Regions from separate parts of the Homo sapiens genome. Here region 1 is linked to region 2. The links are contacts of gene promoters, found by promoter capture Hi-C in human tissues and cell types (Jung and others, 2019). All regions are on one chromosome and are shown on one strand. The core of a region is centred on a gene start or on the middle of the fragment in contact, and the rest is flanking DNA. Distances in the headings are between cores, read along the strand shown. Region 1 overlaps NARF (nuclear prelamin A recognition factor). Region 2 holds the start of TEX19 (testis expressed 19).

The links. Contacts are between HindIII fragments. The study calls those that stand out against the background at their distance.
Region 1: a fragment that was not itself captured here is called in contact with the fragment with the promoter of TEX19 in region 2 in 5 of the 25 tissues and cell types used here (IMR-90 fibroblasts, dorsolateral prefrontal cortex, mesenchymal stem cells and 2 more).

What each region holds. Positions count from the first base shown.
Region 1 is chr17:82,473,084-82,478,254 of GRCh38, forward strand. All of the region lies in intron 5 of NARF (nuclear prelamin A recognition factor), which reads left to right. Among named protein-coding and RNA genes, the nearest start is that of NARF, 17 kb to the left of the region's middle. The HindIII fragment of the contact is 9,427 bases long and covers 1-5,171 here.
Region 2 is chr17:82,356,034-82,361,627 of GRCh38, forward strand. TEX19 (testis expressed 19) reads left to right here and starts at 3,214. Exons shown (of 2, transcript NM_207459.4): 1 at 3,214-3,252. RefSeq lists an enhancer at 1-791 and a silencer at 4,400-4,694. The HindIII fragment of the contact is 14,968 bases long and covers 1-5,594 here.

The DNA.
Region 1 (5,171 bases), core at 780-3,279, 120 kb after region 2:
GTGCACGCCACTGCACCCAACTAATTATTGTATTATTAGTGGAGATGGGGTTTTGCCATATTGGCCAGGCTGGTCTTGAACTCCTGATCTCAGGTGATCTGCCTGCCTCGGGCTCCCAAAGTGCTGGGATTACAGGCGTGAGCCACTGTGCCCAGTCTAGGCAGATCTCTTGAGCCCAGGAGTTTGAGACCAGCCTGGGCAACATGTCTCTATTTTTTTTTTTTTTTTGGAGACGGAATCTCAGTCTGTTGCCCAGGCTGGAGTGCAGTGGTGTGATCTCGGCTCATTGCAACCTCCACCTCCCAGGTTCAAGCGATTCTTTTTTTTTTGTTGTTGAGACAGAGTCTCGCTCTGTCACCCAGACTGGAGTGCATCCTGCCTCACCCTCCCGAGTAGCTGGGACTACAGGCGCCTGCCACCACACCCGGCTAATTTCTTTTTGTATTTTTAGTAGAGACGGGGTTTCACCGTGTTAGTCAGGATGGTCTCGATCTCCTGACCTCGTGATCTGCCTGCCTCGGCCTCCCAAAATGCTGGGATTACAGGCGTGAGCCACTGTGCCTGGCCAGGTTCAAGCGATTCTTATGCCTCAGCCTCCCCAGTAGCTGGGATTACAGGCTAGCGCCACCACGCCTGGCTAATTTTTGTATTTTTAGTAGAGATGGGGTTTCGCCATGTTGCCCAGGCTGGTCTTGAAATCCTGACCTCAAGTGATCTGCCCGCCTTGGCCTCCCAAAGTGCTGGGATTACAGACATGAGCCACCACACCCGTCCTCTAATTTTTTAAATAAATATTTTTTAAAAGGAAAAGAAAAATAGGCCAGGCATGGTGGCTCACAGCCATAATCCCAACAATTTAGAAGGCTGATGTGGGAGGATTGCTTTAGCCCAGGAGTGTGGGACCAGTCTCGTCAACATAGTGAGACCTCGTCTCTGCAAAAAAAAACAAAAAAAAGCCAGGGGTGGTGGCAAGTACCTGTAATCACAGCTACTACGAATCCTAGCCTGAGGTGTTTGAGCCAAGGAGTTAGAGGCTGCAGTGAGCTATGACTCCTCCATTGTACTCCAGCCTGGGCGAAAGACTGAGGTCCTGTCTCTTAAGAAAATCCGTTTTCTCTTGAAAGTACAACATATCTCAGATGTACAAATAATTATGGAATAATATGGCAAACGTGCATGTATCTTTTGCCAGCTTAAAAAAAATACAGAATAAGAAAATTTCTTTACATTGATATTCAGATACTCTCAGGGCGCACTGTTTAAACCACTCTTTAATTGGTTTTTGGATGCCTGAGTTATAGAAGAGATTTGTCACATGCTTTTCAATTCTGGAAAAATAGAGAGTTTGGGTTAAGAAATCTTCGATGATGCATAAGGGAATAAGGAAGGAATGGCTATCCTGGCAAACAACACTAGTTAAAAATTATTCTACTACATGAGGCCTGTGGGAGCATAGGAGAGCTCTATCTAAGCTAGTCGTAGGCTGTATAATTTTTAGGGTTTGGTTCACGTTTCAGTTCTTAATTTATGCTCCCCCTACAATGGTTTCAAATTTTTCTGGCATTTTACATGTCAACCTTTAGTCATTAGGATTATGAATTAATAAGATGGAACATTGACATCGTGGTTGCTTAGAATACGGACTTACTCTCTAGCCATTTATAAAATATAAAGAGGAAATTTACCATCTGTTCCATGGGCTGCATTGGTTGGCTCGTTATTTGAGCTGTATCGTTCACCAGCAACCCACAGCCTGCTGTGATCTCAGCTCCAGATGGGGACAGGGATGTTAGTGACTTCTTTCAGCTGTATGGTTTGCCTTACTGTAAGTGATTCACAGATTTTTGTATCAGAGGTCGAAGTATAAGCCATTTGACGCCAGATACAGCCTTTTACTAGATTGTGGGTGTTACATTCAGCTCTTGTGGCATTTTGGGTGTGTTTCCAGGTGTAAAGGGATAATTTCCACACCTGATGGTTTCTGGGGCTGCCTGGACTCCAGCAACCTGGGAGTACCTGGTGTTTGTGTGCTGAGCCTGAGCCTGCCTCTGTGGTCCCCTTGCAGGAGTGCTTTCCTTTTGGGACCCTGTTACATGATACCACACACAACATGGCTTCACAACACCAGTCACACTTGCTTAGTTCCACCCCCAACCAAGGAAGAGGCCGTGTAAAATGACAACGAACTAAGGCCCATGCCCCTGGAGCAGTGGTTTTTAAATTATAAAAAATTTAGGCCGGGCGCAGTGGCTCACGCCTGTAATCCCAGCACTTTGGGAGGCCGAGGTGGGCGGATCACAAGGTCAGGAGATTGAGACCATCCTGGCTAACACGGTGAAACCCCGTCTCTACTAAAAATACAAAAAATTAGCCAGGTGTGGCGGGCACCTGTAGTCCCTGCTACTCGGGAGGCTGAGGTGGGAGCTTCACTGGAACCCAGGAGGTCGAGGCTGCAGTGAGCCGTGATTGCACCACCGCACTCCAGCCTGGGTAACAGAGCAACCCTGTCAATCATACATATATACTACATACATACAGCAAATCTCAAGCTAAAATAGGAAGCAAGGGGCTGGCCTGCAGCCAGTGGCTGGAGAAGAGAAAGGATTTGGTGACACATTTCTCAGAAATGCCGTCACTGAGAAGAGACCTCTCAGGGCCCCTACCTAGCATTGTGTTCACTGCCACAGGCGGAGGGATCACCGTTTCTATACAAATCAGCAATCTGCTCAGGATTCACATCAGCAGAGTTAGTTCCTTCAGTGACTTGAGAAGGTTCCATCCCAGTAGGACCTCTCATAAGGAAATCAACAAATGTAAGGAGACTGCAAAAAGTTTGTGGAAGAACAGAATTAAAAGATAAAAAGTATAAACTTTATTTCTCAACATAAGCTCCATCCTGGTCAAGACTTTTTTTTATTTTTTATTTTATTTATTTATTTATTGAGACAGAGTCTCGCTCTGTCACCCAGGCTGGAGTGCATTGGTGTGATCTTGGCCCACTGCAACCTCCATCCCCCAGGTTCAAGTGATTCTCCCAACTCAGCCTCCTGAGAAGTTGGGATTGCAGGTGCATGCCACCATGCCCAGCTAATTTTTGTATCTGTAGTAGAGACAGGGTTTTACCATTTTGGTCAGGCTGGTCTCAAACTCCTGACCTCAGGTGATCGCCCGCCTCAGTCTCCCAAAGTGCTGGGATTACAGGCACTTGCCACCATGCCCGGCTAATTTTTGTATTTTTAGTAGAGACGGGGTTGCACCATGTTGGCCAGGCCAGTCTCAAACTCCTGACCTCAGGTGATCCGCCTGCCTCGGCCTCCCAAAGTGCTGGGATTACAGCAGTGAGCCACTGTGCCCAGCTAACACTTTTTTGTTTGTTTGTTTGTTTTGAGATGGAGTCTCGCTCTGTTGCCCAGGCTGGAGTGCAGTGGCGTGATCTCGGCTCCTCTGCCTCCTGGGTTCAAGCGATTCTGCTGCCTCAGCCTCCTGAGTAGCTAGGATTAGAGGCATGCACCACCACGCCTGGCTAATTTTTGTATTTGTAATAGAGACACGGTTTCACTTTGTTGGTCAGGCTGGCCTTGATCTCCTGACCTCGATGATCTGCCTTCCTTGGACTCCCAAAGTGCTGGGATTACAGGCATGAGCCACCACACCTGGCGTTTTTGAGACGGAGTTTCGCTCTTGTTGCTCAGGCTAGAGTGCAATAGCGAGATCTCAGCTCACTGCAACCCCCACCTCCCAGGTTCAAGCCATTCTCCTGCCTCAGCCTCCCAAGTAGCTGGGATTAGAGGCGCCTGCCACCACGCCCAGCTAATTTTTATATTTTCAGTAGAGACAGGGTTTCACCATGTTGGCCAGGCTGGAATAGAACTCCCGACCTCAGGTGATCCACCCGCCTCGGCCTCCCAAAGTGTGCTGGGATTAGAGGTGTGAGCCACTCCACCCAGCCAACAGTTTTTTAAGCAGGATCTTACTTTGTTGCCCACGCTGGAGTGCGGCAGCTCAATCATGGCTCACGAGAGCTTCAACCTCTTGGGCTCAAGTGATCCTCCCATCTTAGCCTTCCAAGTAGCTGGGACCACAGGCGTGCGCCACCAGCTAATTTTTATATTTATTTATTTTTTTTAAGACAGAGTCAGGCCAGGCAGGGTGGCTCACGCCTGTAATCCCAGCATTTTGGGAGGCCGAGGCGGGAGGATCTCCTGAGGTCAAGAGTTCGAGACCAGCCTGACCAACATGGTGAAACCCTGTCTCTACTAAAAATACAAAAATTGGCCACACACGGTGGCGCACACTTGTAGTCCCAGCTGCTTGGGAGGCTGAGGCAGAAGAATCGCTTGAACCCGGGAGCCAGAGGTTACAGTGAGCCAAGATCGTGTGACTGCACTCCAGCCTGGGTGACAGAGCAAGACTGTCTCAAAAAAAAAACAAAAACAACCAAAAAAACAACACAGAGTCTTGCTCTGTCATCCAAGCTTGGAGAGCAGTGATGCAATCATAGCTGACTCCAGCCTCGAACTCCTGGGCTCAAAGCCATCCTCCTGCCTCAGTCTCCCAAGTAGCTAGGACTACAGGTGTGCACCACCACGCCTGGATGATTTTTTTATTTTTCTAGAGACAGAGTCTCACCGTGTTGCCTAGGCTGGTCTTGAAATCCTGCCCTCAAGTGATCCGCCTGCCTCACAGTCCCAAAGTGTTGGGATTACAGGCGTGAGCTACTGCGCCCGGCCCTGGGGCATTTCTCTCTGTGGCTGCTTCTGTGTCTCTGTGGGTGTTTCCTGAGCACACACGGGCGTCTTTATAGGTGAAACTTTGATTGTTAAATGGGATTATCATGTCTGACTGTGGGACATGAGCTGCCTCTCACCCTCTGGGCGACCTTCCCCGCCAGGAGTAGAGTCTCCCAAGGTATCTACCCAGCCCCTGTTTGAGGGCAGGTTGCGTGGCTCTCATGTACACAGGTGTGCAAGTGTCTGTGGGGTCAGGTCCTAAAATCAGTTGCCAGGTCAGCAAGTTCTGTGATGTTCTTATGCACTCTGACTGGGCTGTACGCCTGCGGGAAAGGAGTAGGCAGGGCTCCTGCGGTGGAATTGCTGTTGTGTGGTCAGCTGCAGTGGTGACTTGTGTTCACCCTGGAAACCACAGCAGCACTCAACCTCAGGAAAGTGCTC
Region 2 (5,594 bases), core at 1,964-4,463:
CCTCAGGTCAGATTCCTGGACTTGCTGGGGATCCTGTGCCCAGGAAGGCACCAGCCCAGGAGGCTCTGAGCCTCAGCCAGGGATGCAGCAGGTTGGTAGCACCTTGGCAGCCATCCCGAGGACACAGGTAAGAAGCCAACAGAGAAGCAAGAATGTGTCTTATTAAAGCTGCTCCACTCCACAAGCATCTCTGGAATGTTCTCTGGGCCCCGGATCTGCGCGAGGCATTCTGGGTGAGACAGAGACGAAGCCGCTTGAGCTCGGAAGCCGGTGCTCAAAGAGCGTGACGTGGCCTCACCCCATTCCTCTGCAGGGCTCAGCTGGCACCTGCACCCCCGAGGTAGCTGGGGGCCCCTGAGCTTGGCCAGGCCCATCTGGCAGCCTTGTCCCTGCTTGTCCACCCCCTCTGGGTTGCGTTCAGCTTCCTGAGCTCCCCCTCTTCACCCGTTCCTAACACAAGAGCTTGTGCACCCCAGGATGGTGGGGATGGGGTTCTGGCTCGTGGGCAATCTGGGTGTCAGGCTTACGGCCCCAGTGGCTCCGGGTCATGGCCTTGGCCCCACAATGGCTGTGCTGCCCCATCAGTGGTCTCTGCAGCTGGGGAAATGCCTGGTCCTTCTGGAGATACAGGAGTGTTGGATTCCCCGATTATGGCCACGTCCTGTTCCTCTGGTACCATCCACCCACCAAGTCTTGCCACGGTTTCCCTCTGGGCCTCAAATCCAGCTGTCCATCCCAACATCTGTCTCAAGTGGCCTCTCCTGTACCCAGCTGCCCAGGAAGCGATCCAAAGGCTCCGTCCCAGGCTGCTGAGGTGACTGAGGACCTTGAGAGGGTCCTACACTCTCAGACCAGGGTGAGGCCGAGGCCCGAGAGGCAAGTCCCTGCCCAGGCCCTGGCTGGCCAGGACGCGCTGGCCACAGCTTCCCAGAGTGGACGCTGCCCTGCACCCGCCAACACTTCCCCGTCAGCTTCCCGGTCCCACACCGCTCCTGCTGGCAACGAGGTCGCAGCATATTAAATTCTCGACGCAACTACTGTGTGAAAAAGCCATGCAAACCAGCGAGGAGCCTGCTTACCACAGGGGCCCTCAGAGGGCTCTGCTGCTCCTCGGTCAAAACCTCCTTTAGGCAGTGACTCTGGCAGCTGCCGGCTGGGCTGTGTCCTGAGAACTGAGGCTGGGAGGGGCCAGGTGGGAGGGACCTCATCCTCCAGGCGCCCACTGGCCCAGCCCTGAGTGTTCACGACAGGTGCAGGGCTCCCTCCCCGGCCCCCTTCTGGCCAGGGCAGCCACAGCTCAGCCCCGAGGCCTTGAGTGGCCTTTTCAGAGAAAACCAGGACCTGGGGGCTCCTCCCGGGAGCCTCTGACCCCCAGACCCATAAACAGGCTTCTCTGTGGGGTCCCTCAACCACTACTTTCCTCTCACCTGAGGGGACCAGCCAGACAGCTCAGGCACCCGAGTCTTTAGGGAATGAGCTCACTGCCCTCTCCACCCACAGCAGGACACCTGGCAGCCAAAGCCCCACACCTGCCCCTATCCCAGGACTGGGACGAGGAAGCCCCAGGGTGAGGGGTGGCCCTGATCTGAGCCCTAACCTGGTGGGGGTGGCAGGCAGCCCCAGGTGTGTGGATGACCTGAGCCAGGCACAGACAGCTGCCAGGTGGGGAGGAGCAGAGGTCATGGGGATGTAGGGAAAGGGTTTGGGGGTTCCTCCCACAGGGCCACTGTGTGAGACAATTTGTCACTTTCTTACAAAACTAAACACACTCTGACCACAGCATCCAGCAATCTCACTCCTTAGAGTTTACCAAAATGAGTTGAGAACTTATGTCTACAGACACCTGCACATGAATATTTGTAGTAGCTTTATTCATAATTGCCCAAACCTGGGAGCAACCAAGATGTCTTTCCATAGGTGAATGGATAAATAAACCATGGTACATCCAGACAATGGAATACCATTCAGTGTTAAAAAATAAGTGAGCTGGCCATGCAAGGTGGCTCACGTCTGTAATCCCAGCACTGTGGGAGGCAGAGGCAGGCGGATCACTTGAGCCCAAGTGTTTGATACCAGTGTGGGCAACATGGTGAGGCCCTGTCTCACAAAAAATACAAAACTTATCGGGGTGTGCACCAGCACCTGTAGTCCCAGCTATTTGGGAGGCTGAGGTGAGAAAATCACAGGAGCCCAGGAGGTTGAGGCTGTAGTAGCTGTGATTTCACCAGTGCATTCCAGCCTGGGTGACAGAGCAAGACTCTGTCTCAAAAAAAAAAAAAAAAAAAAAAAGAAGTGAACTATCAAACCACAAAAGACATGGAAGAACCAAAGTGCGTATTACTAAAAAAGAAGTTGAAAAGGCTACATAATGTATGAGTCCAGCTCTGTGACATTTTGGAAAAGGCAAAATTAAGGAGACAGTCAAAAGATTCCTGGTTGCCAGGGGCTGGGAGAGGGAGTGATGAAAATGCAGAACACAGATGAATCGGGGCGGAGAAACCCGTCTGTACAATATTAGAGTGGTGGGTCTGCATGATTATACATGTGTCCAAACCTGCAGAATGCACAGCACCGGAGGAAAGCATAATGGAAACTGCAGAGGGCGATGATGATAATAACAACGTGTAACAAATGGCTGGGACGGGAGGACTGGGGAAGGCTGTGCACCTGCAGGAGCAGGGGAGCGGTGGGAGAGCTCCATGCTTTTGGCTCAATTTTGCTATGAACCTAAAACTGCTGTAAAAAATAGAGTCTACTGAAAAAACAAGTGTTAATTTATAAGCGTCTTGTTTAAAGAGCGAAGAGATGAACCACAAAGGGGAAAATGTGTTTAAACAATAACTAATTGACAATTGGCTGGTTCTTAAAATTCAGAGAACTTTAAGACAGAGACAGCAAAGCAGGGATCACGTTTTACAAACGCGGCAGGACCAGGACGTCGTGCCCACGACGGGCCAGCAACCACAGGCTGGATGCTCACCCTGTGCCAGCCTGCAGACGGAGAGCACCCACCCCAATCTCCAGCCCCCAGAGGAGCTGCCTCTCCAGGGCCTTCCTGCAGGTGCCCAGGGGCTGCACATGGCCCTCCTTGGAGGGAGCTGGTGACTCAGCACTTTCATTTCCTGGAAACTGAGGCTCATGGGAGATATGCAGATGAGCCCAGAGCACCATGGGAAATGGCCCTTTATATACCCAAATGGGCTCTGCCTCCTCCTTTCCCTGGGTGCCCACATGAACAGAGACACCAGGATGGTGAGATCTCCCGAGGAGGGGTCTCTGAGGAGGGGTCTCGGAGACACGGCCTGGTGCTGGGTGAGGGGTTGGGAGGCTGAAGCGGGGCCAGGATTCCTCAGGTTCCCTCAGTTTCCCTCAAATTTCCCTCAGTTTCCCTCAGGTTCCCTAAGGTTCTCCAAGTTCCCTCAAATTTCCCTCAGTTTCCCTCAGGTTCCCTCAGTTTCCCTCAAGTTTCCCTCAGTTTCCCTCAGGTTCCCTCAGTTTCCCTCAGGTTCCCTCAGTTTCCCTCAAGTTTCCCTCAGTTTCCCTCAGGTTCCCTCAGTTTCCCTCAAGTTTCCCTCAGGTTCCCCCAGTTTCCCTCAAGTTTCCCTCAGCTTCCCTCAGGTTCCCCCAGTTTCCCTCAGGTTCCCTCAGTTTCCCTCAAGTTTCCCTCAGTTTCCCCCAGTTTCCCTCAAATTTCCCTCAGTTTCCCTCAGGTTCCCTCAGTTTCCCCCAGCTTCCCTCAGGTTCCCTCAGTTTCCCTCAAGTTCCCCTCAGTTTCCCCCAGTTTCCCTCAGGTTCCCCCAGTTTCCCTCAAGTTCCCCTCAGGTTCCCCCAGTTTCCCTCAAGTTTCCCTCGGGTTCCCCCAGTTTCCCTCAGGTTCCCCCAGTTTCCCTCAGTTTCCCTCAAGTTTCCCTCAGGTTCCCCCAGTTTCCCTCAGGTTCCCTCAGTTTCCCTCAAGTTTCCCTCAGGTTCCCCCAGTTTCCCTCAGGTTCCCTCAGGTTCCCCCAGTTTCCCCCAGGTTCCCCCAGTTTCCCCCAGTTTCCCTCAAGTTTCCCTCAGGTTCCCCCAGTTTCCCTCAGGTTCCCTCAGTTTCCCTCAAGTTTCCCTCAGGTTCCCCCAGTTTCCCTCAGGTTCCCTCAGTTTCCCTCAGGTTCCCCCAGTTTCCCCCAGGTTCCCCCAGTTTCCCCCAGTTTCCCTCAAGTTTCCCTCAGGTTCCCCCAGTTTCCCTCAGGTTCCCTCAGGTTCCCCCAGTTTCCCCCAGTTTCCCTCAGGTTCCCCCAGTTTCCCTCAGGTTCCCTCAGTTTCCCTCAGGTTCCCCCAGTTTCCCTCAGTTTCCCCCAGTTTCCCTCAAGTTTCCCTCAGGTTCCCCCAGTTTCCCTCAGGTTCCCTCAGTTTCCCTCAGGTTCCCCCAGTTTCCCTCAGGTTCCCTCAAGTTTCCCTCAGGTTCCCCCAGTTTCCCTCAGGTTCCCTCAGGTTCCCTCAGTTTCCCTCAGGTTCCCCCAGTTTCCCTCAGTTTCCCCCAGTTTCCCTCAAGTTTCCCTCAGGTTCCCCCAGTTTCCCTCAGGTTCCCCCAGTTTCCCTCAGGTTCCCTCAGTTTCCCTCAGGTTCCCCCAGTTTCCCTCAGGTTCCCTCGGGTTCCCTCAAGTTTCCCTCAGGTTCCCCCAGTTTCCCTCAGGTTCCCTCAGTTTCCCTCAAGTTTCCCTCAGGTTCCCCCAGTTTCCCTCAGGTTCCCCCAGTTTCCCTCAAGTTTCCCTCAGGTTCCCCCAGTTTCCCTCAGGTTCCCCCAGTTTCCCTCAGGTTCCCTCAGTTTCCCCCAGTTTCCCTCAGGTTCCCCCAGTTTCCCTCAGGTTCCCTCAGTTTCCCCCAGTTTCCCTCAAGTTTCCCTCAGGTTCCCCCAGTTTCCCTCAGGTTCCCTCAGTTTCCCTCAGGTTCCCCCAGTTTCCCTCAGGTTCCCTCAGTTTTCCCCAGTTTCCCTCAGGTTCCCTCAGTTTCCCTCAGGTTCCCTCAGTTTCCCCCAGTTTCCCTCAGGTTCCCCCAGTTTCCCTCAGTTTCCCTCAGGTTTCCTCAAGTTGCCTCAGTTTCCTTCAGGTTCCCTCAATTTCCATCAGGTCCCCTCAGGCTCTGCCAGTTTCCCTCAGGTTCCCCCAGTTTCCCTCAGGTTCCCTCAGTTTCCCCCAGTTTCCCTCAGGTTCCCCCAGTTTCCCCCAGTTTCCCTCAAGTTTCCCTCAGGTTCCCCCAGTTTCCCTCAGTTTCCCCCAGTTTCCCTCAGGTTCCCCCAGTTTCCCTCAGTTTCCCTTAGGTTTCCTCAAGTTGCCTCAGTTTCCTTCAGGTTCCCTCAATTTCCATCAGGTCCCCTCAGGCTCTGCCAGTTTCCCTCAGGTTCCCCCAGTTTCCCTCAGGTTCCCTCAGTTTCCCCCAGTTTCCCTCAGGTTCCCTCAGTTTCCCCCAGTTTCTCTCAGGTTCCCCCAGTTTCCCTCAGTTTCCCCCAGTTTCCCTCAGGTTCCCCCAGTTTCCCTCAGGTTCCCTCAGGTTCCCCCAGTTTCCTTCAGGTTCCCTCAATTTCCATCAGGTCCCCTCAGGCTCTGCCAGTTTCCCTC